Regions from separate parts of the Homo sapiens genome. Here region 2 is linked to region 1. Evidence: promoter capture Hi-C in 16 types of primary human blood cells and fetal thymus (Javierre and others, 2016). All regions are on one chromosome and are shown on one strand. The core of a region is centred on a gene start or on the middle of the fragment in contact, and the rest is flanking DNA. Distances in the headings are between cores, read along the strand shown.

What was found. Contacts are between HindIII fragments. The CHiCAGO score rates a contact against its expected background, and 5 or more counts as called.
Region 2: a contact is called between a fragment that was not itself captured here and the fragment with the promoter of ZNF225 in region 1, in 7 of 17 cell types (naive B cells, non-activated CD4 T cells, naive CD8 T cells and 4 more). The highest score is 13.0, in naive B cells.

Annotation. Positions count from the first base shown.
Region 1 is chr19:44,112,075-44,114,774 of GRCh38, forward strand. It overlaps ZNF225 (zinc finger protein 225), which reads left to right and starts at 1,325. Exons shown (of 5, transcript NM_013362.4): 1 at 1,325-1,495. ZNF225-AS1 (ZNF225 and ZNF224 antisense RNA 1) reads right to left here and starts at 1,109. Exons shown (of 2, transcript NR_033341.1): 1 at 748-1,109. RefSeq lists a silencer at 1,036-1,386 and an enhancer at 1,079-1,778. The HindIII fragment of the contact is 4,811 bases long and covers 528-2,700 here.
Region 2 is chr19:37,179,851-37,182,550 of GRCh38, forward strand. ZNF585B (zinc finger protein 585B) reads right to left here. Exons shown (of 5, transcript NM_152279.4): 5 at 1,729-2,700. Among named protein-coding and RNA genes, the nearest start is that of ZNF585A, 8.5 kb to the left of the region's middle. The HindIII fragment of the contact is 2,530 bases long and covers 98-2,627 here.

The DNA.
Region 1 (2,700 bases), core at 75-2,574:
TTGAGGAGGCAGTGTCTGATTTACATAGGGGTCATAGATTGGTTCGATCAGTTATGACGTTTACATAGTGCGTGGGGAAGGCTGGTCGCCCCACCCTAATCTTCTTATGCAAATAGGCTTCCCAGTTGATTGGCCCATCTTGCCAGCTTCTTACTGTGCACGTGGCTGACAAAGAGAAGGGAAGATGGAGCCGCCATCTTTAACATGATTGGCACAACTGCTGGTATCTATGTCTGCGGCAGCTGGATTTTACAGGCTGCTCTTCCTTAGGAAGGGAAATAATTTGGGGCTGCTTTTCATTAAAAAGAAAAGCCTTACCGAGGGCTCCCATACCCTATCTGCCTAAGTGATGGCTTCTTAACTCGTATATATTAACAACACTGTATTCGTACTAGATGCCATTGCCATTGAATTATGTGCCTTAAAATAATTTTGTTTTGTGAATTACACCTCAAAAATATTTTTTAAATAATAAAACGACCACGTTAAAAACGTTTTGCATAGCGAAAAACAAGTCAAAGGAAAAAAGCTTTTTGGTTGAGCAATATTTGATACAATGTTAATATGAGTATGTAAATAATACTTAACGGAGGGGAAAAAACTAAACACTCAATAGAAATGTGGGCAAACTATTTGACCAATTCACAAAGACTATAATAGTGGCAACGGAAAATATGCACGGATGTTCCACTTTATTTACAAAAGAACAAATACAAATTAAAACTACATTTAGAAACCATTTCTTACCATTAGATTAGCAAAACTTAACTCCTCGAAGACTGTGTCTTCTCGCTTGTTCCCTTTCCAATAACACTCCTGTTATCATTGGAGGCGTTTAGACTTCAGAAATTCCTGTCTATTCAGTATTTTCTGTCCTGGACCAGGGAGAGAGAAGGACGACTCTCAGGATAACAGTTCACATTCCCCACTAGGCAGGCGCTCGTGGCTTTGGGATTCGTTCCCAGTGGGCACCTCGGAGTGGCAACGCTTCCCCCTGAAGAATGAGATTTTGAGCGTTTTTCCTTCAGCATTCGGAGGAGTGTAATCCAAATGCTCTGTGGAGTCGTACACACTGGCTCCAGAAGGAGGATACAAGCAATTCTGGGAATGGTAGTCCAGACGCTCAGTGGAGTAGCGGTCAGCTTGGCTCCGGCAGGCGAATCAGGGGATTTCTGGGAAATGTAGTCCAGACGCTCAGTGGAGTCTCGGTCAATTTGACTCCGGCAGGTGGATCCCAGGGAATTCTGGGAAGTGTAGTCCAGACGCTCGGGGTCGTCGCGGTCAGTTTGTCTCAGGAATTCTGGGAAGTGGAGTCCAGACACTCAGTGGAGTAGCGGGCCACTTCCGCTCCGTTACTGTGAGGTTGCTGCAGTTTTGTCCCTGGTAGTTTGGGTCAGTTCCGCGAGACCCTTCTGAATTTCCTGGACCTACGCATTGGATCCTTAACGAACTGGTGATCGAATTAGGGGAAAAGAAACCTCGTCGGAGAGCAGAGGTTTGGCGGAGCGGGGCCGCTGTTTTCGTTCTCGTCAGTGGAGCCTTCTTGGGCTTGGGGCTCTCCTCGCGTCCCCGGGGTGTTTGGGACTTGGTCGGGTCGCGTCTCGCCTGGTTTTAGGGTCTCCGGGGCTCTGAGCTCGCCCACTCGGCCTCCCTGCACCCCACGCGCGTGGCCACTTCCTCGCGATAAAACGCTGGGATGTTACTTAATCTCCTTGGGTCTCCCGTTACAGTTCTTTAAGATGGGGAGTTTAGGACCATCCTAATAGAATCGTTTTGGGAACTGAAAGCGGTAACACAAATGAGAGCCTTAAAGCAGCCCCTGTCACTTGGTGACTGGTGGTCTCTTGTTAATTTCCCACGAAGCCTGTCAGGTCCCCGGGTGGGGTGAAACTCCAGCTGCAGGGGCACCGGCCCTTCTCCCTGATTCCTGCAAGACGCTGGGTGATCCCGGACGCCTTCTGACCTCTCTTTTAGGAAGGCGAGGGTTGCATCCACTTCCAGGAGGGGAGAGGAGCATTTAACTTTTATGGGGCACGGCGACCACGGTCAGAGTGTTTCACAGCCTTCTCCTTACCCAGCCCGACCTTTCCAAAAGAGCTGCAGGGAGGGACTTCTTGGCTTCTGAGGGCAAAGCTCTACGTGAGTGATCCTTGGCTTTTTTCTTTGACAGAGATGCTCACCCCAACCGAGAGTGTATAGGATGTGTCTTCGGGCATGGGTGTTGCTTTCAGTTGTCATGTTTTTCTAGTCTTTAATCTTGAAAGATAGCATAGCTTTCATCGTTTTTTCTTGGTATTTTATCCTTGTTATTTTTGAAGAGTATAGATGAAGTTATTTTGGTCAAAGATGTTCATTTGGAGTTTTTCTGATGTATTTCACGTTTAACTTCAAAATATGCATTTTTTGCTGGAATACCACAGAAGTGGTAAATCTCTCTCTCTCTTTTTTTTTCTTGAGACGGAGTTTCGCTCTTGTCGCCCAGGCTGTAGTGCATGGCACGATCTCAGCTCATTGCAACATCCACCTCCTGGGTTCAAGCTATTCTCCTGCCTCAGCCTCCCAAGTAGCTGGGATTACAGGTGCCTGCCACCACATCCGGCTAATTTTTGTATTTTTAGTAGAGAAGGGATTTCACCATGTTGGCCAGGCTGGTCTCAGACTCCTGACCTCAGGTGATTCAACCGCCTTGGCCTCCCAAAG
Region 2 (2,700 bases), core at 113-2,612, 6.9 Mb before region 1:
TTTTCAAAGATGGGGGAAGAAAGCAAGATGCATGGGCACTGGGGAAGCAGTGTATGCCCAGAGAACACAGTTGGTGCAAAAGCCCAAAGCTGGAGAAAGCTTCCTTGGTGCTAAATCAGCCAGAATTGGGATTCTTGACAAACAATAAAAATATTGACCACCTCCAACTGCAGGCTGTCTGAACCCTATGACCCGTTATTATAGTTATAACTTTATACTATAAACATTAAATGTGATTATGTAAAAGTAGAAATAACTAAAATGTTACATGAAAGTTTGATATATAAAATATAAAAATTATATAATCATACGATACTATATATTATATAAAATGGAAACTATTTTGTAGTAGGTATAATATCATAATGTGCTATAACATACTGTCAACACAATATACAGTGTATGATATGCACACATAAAATAAAATACATAAATCTATATTTATAATCTAGTATCTAATAATTTTTCAAATGTCATTTAAACTATCACATAGTAAAATAAAAGAGTACTTCTGAGATTCATCCATGTTGCAGCCAGTGTCAATAAATCACTTCTTTTCATGTTGGGGTAGTATTCTATTGTATAGATGTTTAATTAGTCACCCACTGTTTAATTAGTCACCCACTGTTACATTTGGGTTGTTTCCTAATTTTGGCAATTATACAGTTGCTGTGAAATTTGAGTACCCGTGTTTTTATATAAACAATTTTTCACTTATCTAGGGCAAATACCTAGGAGAGGGATTGGTGGGTCATATGATAAGTGTATGTTTAACAGTATAAGAAGCTGTCAAGGCTGGGCATGGTGGCTCACGCCTGTAATCCCAGCATTTTGGGAGGCTGAGGCGGGCAGATCACCTGAGACCAGGAGTTCGAGACCAGCCTGACCAACATGGAGAGACCCTTAACTAAACCTCTACTAAAAACATATAAAATTAGCCAGGCGTGGTGGTGCATGCCTGTAATCCCAGCTACTTGGGCGGCTGATGCACGAGAAACGCTTGAACCTGGGAGGTGGAGGTTGTGGGGAGCCGAGATCATGCCATTGCACTTCAGCCTGAGCAATAAGAGCAAAACTTCATCTCAAAAAAAAAAAAAAAAGCTGCCAAACTTTTTGCCCAAAGTGAATGTAACATTTTACATTTCTACCAACAATGCATGAAAGTTTCCATTGCTCTGCATTGTTGCCAACTCTCAGCATTATGTCTTTATTTTTAGGCATGCTAAAAGGTGTGTACAGGTATCTCATTGTGGTTTTCATTTTCATTTTCTTGAAAATTAAAGATGTCGAGCATCTTTTCATCACCTTATTTTCCATTTTTATCTCATATAACAATATGGATAGATCGCAAATACATCACATTAAATGAAACAAGTCCGACTCAAAAAGAGAGATACATACACATATATAAACAGACAGAGACACACACAGGATGTCTCCATTTATACAACATGTGGAAAAGGCAAAATTATACAGACAGAAAATGGGCTTGTGATCATCAAGGCCTGGGGGTGGGCAAAGGGATGGACTAAAAAGTAATAGGAGGAAATGTAGGGAAGTGAGGGAACTGTTCTCTGTCTTGACTGTGGTATTGACTGCATGATGTAATTGTCAAAACTTTGAGAATTCCACACTAAAAAGGGTGAATATTACTGTATGTAAATTATACCTCAATAAATACGACCTTAAAATATTACAGTCATGTTCACACAAAAACCTGCACACAGGTGTTTATAGCATCTTTATTCATAATCAACAAAACTTGGAAGCAATTAAGGTGTCCTTCAGTAGGTGAATGGATAAATAAGTCATGGTACTTCCAGACAATAGCATATTATTCAATGAGAAAAAAAAAAAAAAAAGAGCTAGCAAGCTACGAAAAGACATGGAAGAAACTTAAATCCACATTACTAAGTGAAACAAATCAATCTGAAAAGGCTGCATACTTTATGGTTCAGAGGCAAAATTATGGAGACAAAAGAAAATAGCCAGGAGTTTAGAGGAGTAGGCGAAACACAGAGGATTATTGGGACAGTGAAACGGCTCTTTATCCTTCTGTAATAATGCATACATGTCATTATTCATTTGTCTCAACCCACAGAATGCACATCAAGACTGAACCCTAATTAAACCATGGACTTTGGCCGATAGTGTCAATGTAGTTTCATCAATTGTAACAAATGTACCACTCTGAAGGGGGATGTTGATGATGGGGGAGGCTGTGTATATGTGAGGGTAGGGGATATATGGGAAATCTCTGTACCTTCTGCCCCATTTTGCTGTGAACCTAAAATTTCTCTAAAAACTAGTCTTTTATATAAATGGGCATACATATACATATATATGTCAGCACTAAAATATCACGTTACAATAAATATAAAGGAGAAATTATTGAAAGTCATGTACAGTGAAATGTGTTTTCCTCCATATTTCCTGGAATTCATGAGGAGTGATACACTTAGGAGTAAGGTAAAATGGGAATAATGAAGGGGACCAGACCTTGTTCTAGGGTATGTTAGGAAGGAAGAGGTGATCTCCAGGCACCCTCCTGAGAGTCAGCTGACATTGTCCTAAGTTGGGGATAATGTTGTATCACAAAATATCCAAAACTGAAGGAAGAATAGTGAAGCTTCAGATACAGTGCTGGATGAGGTGAAGGGAGGTAATGGGTGAGCAGACATTGGTCTAAGATGTTGAGCA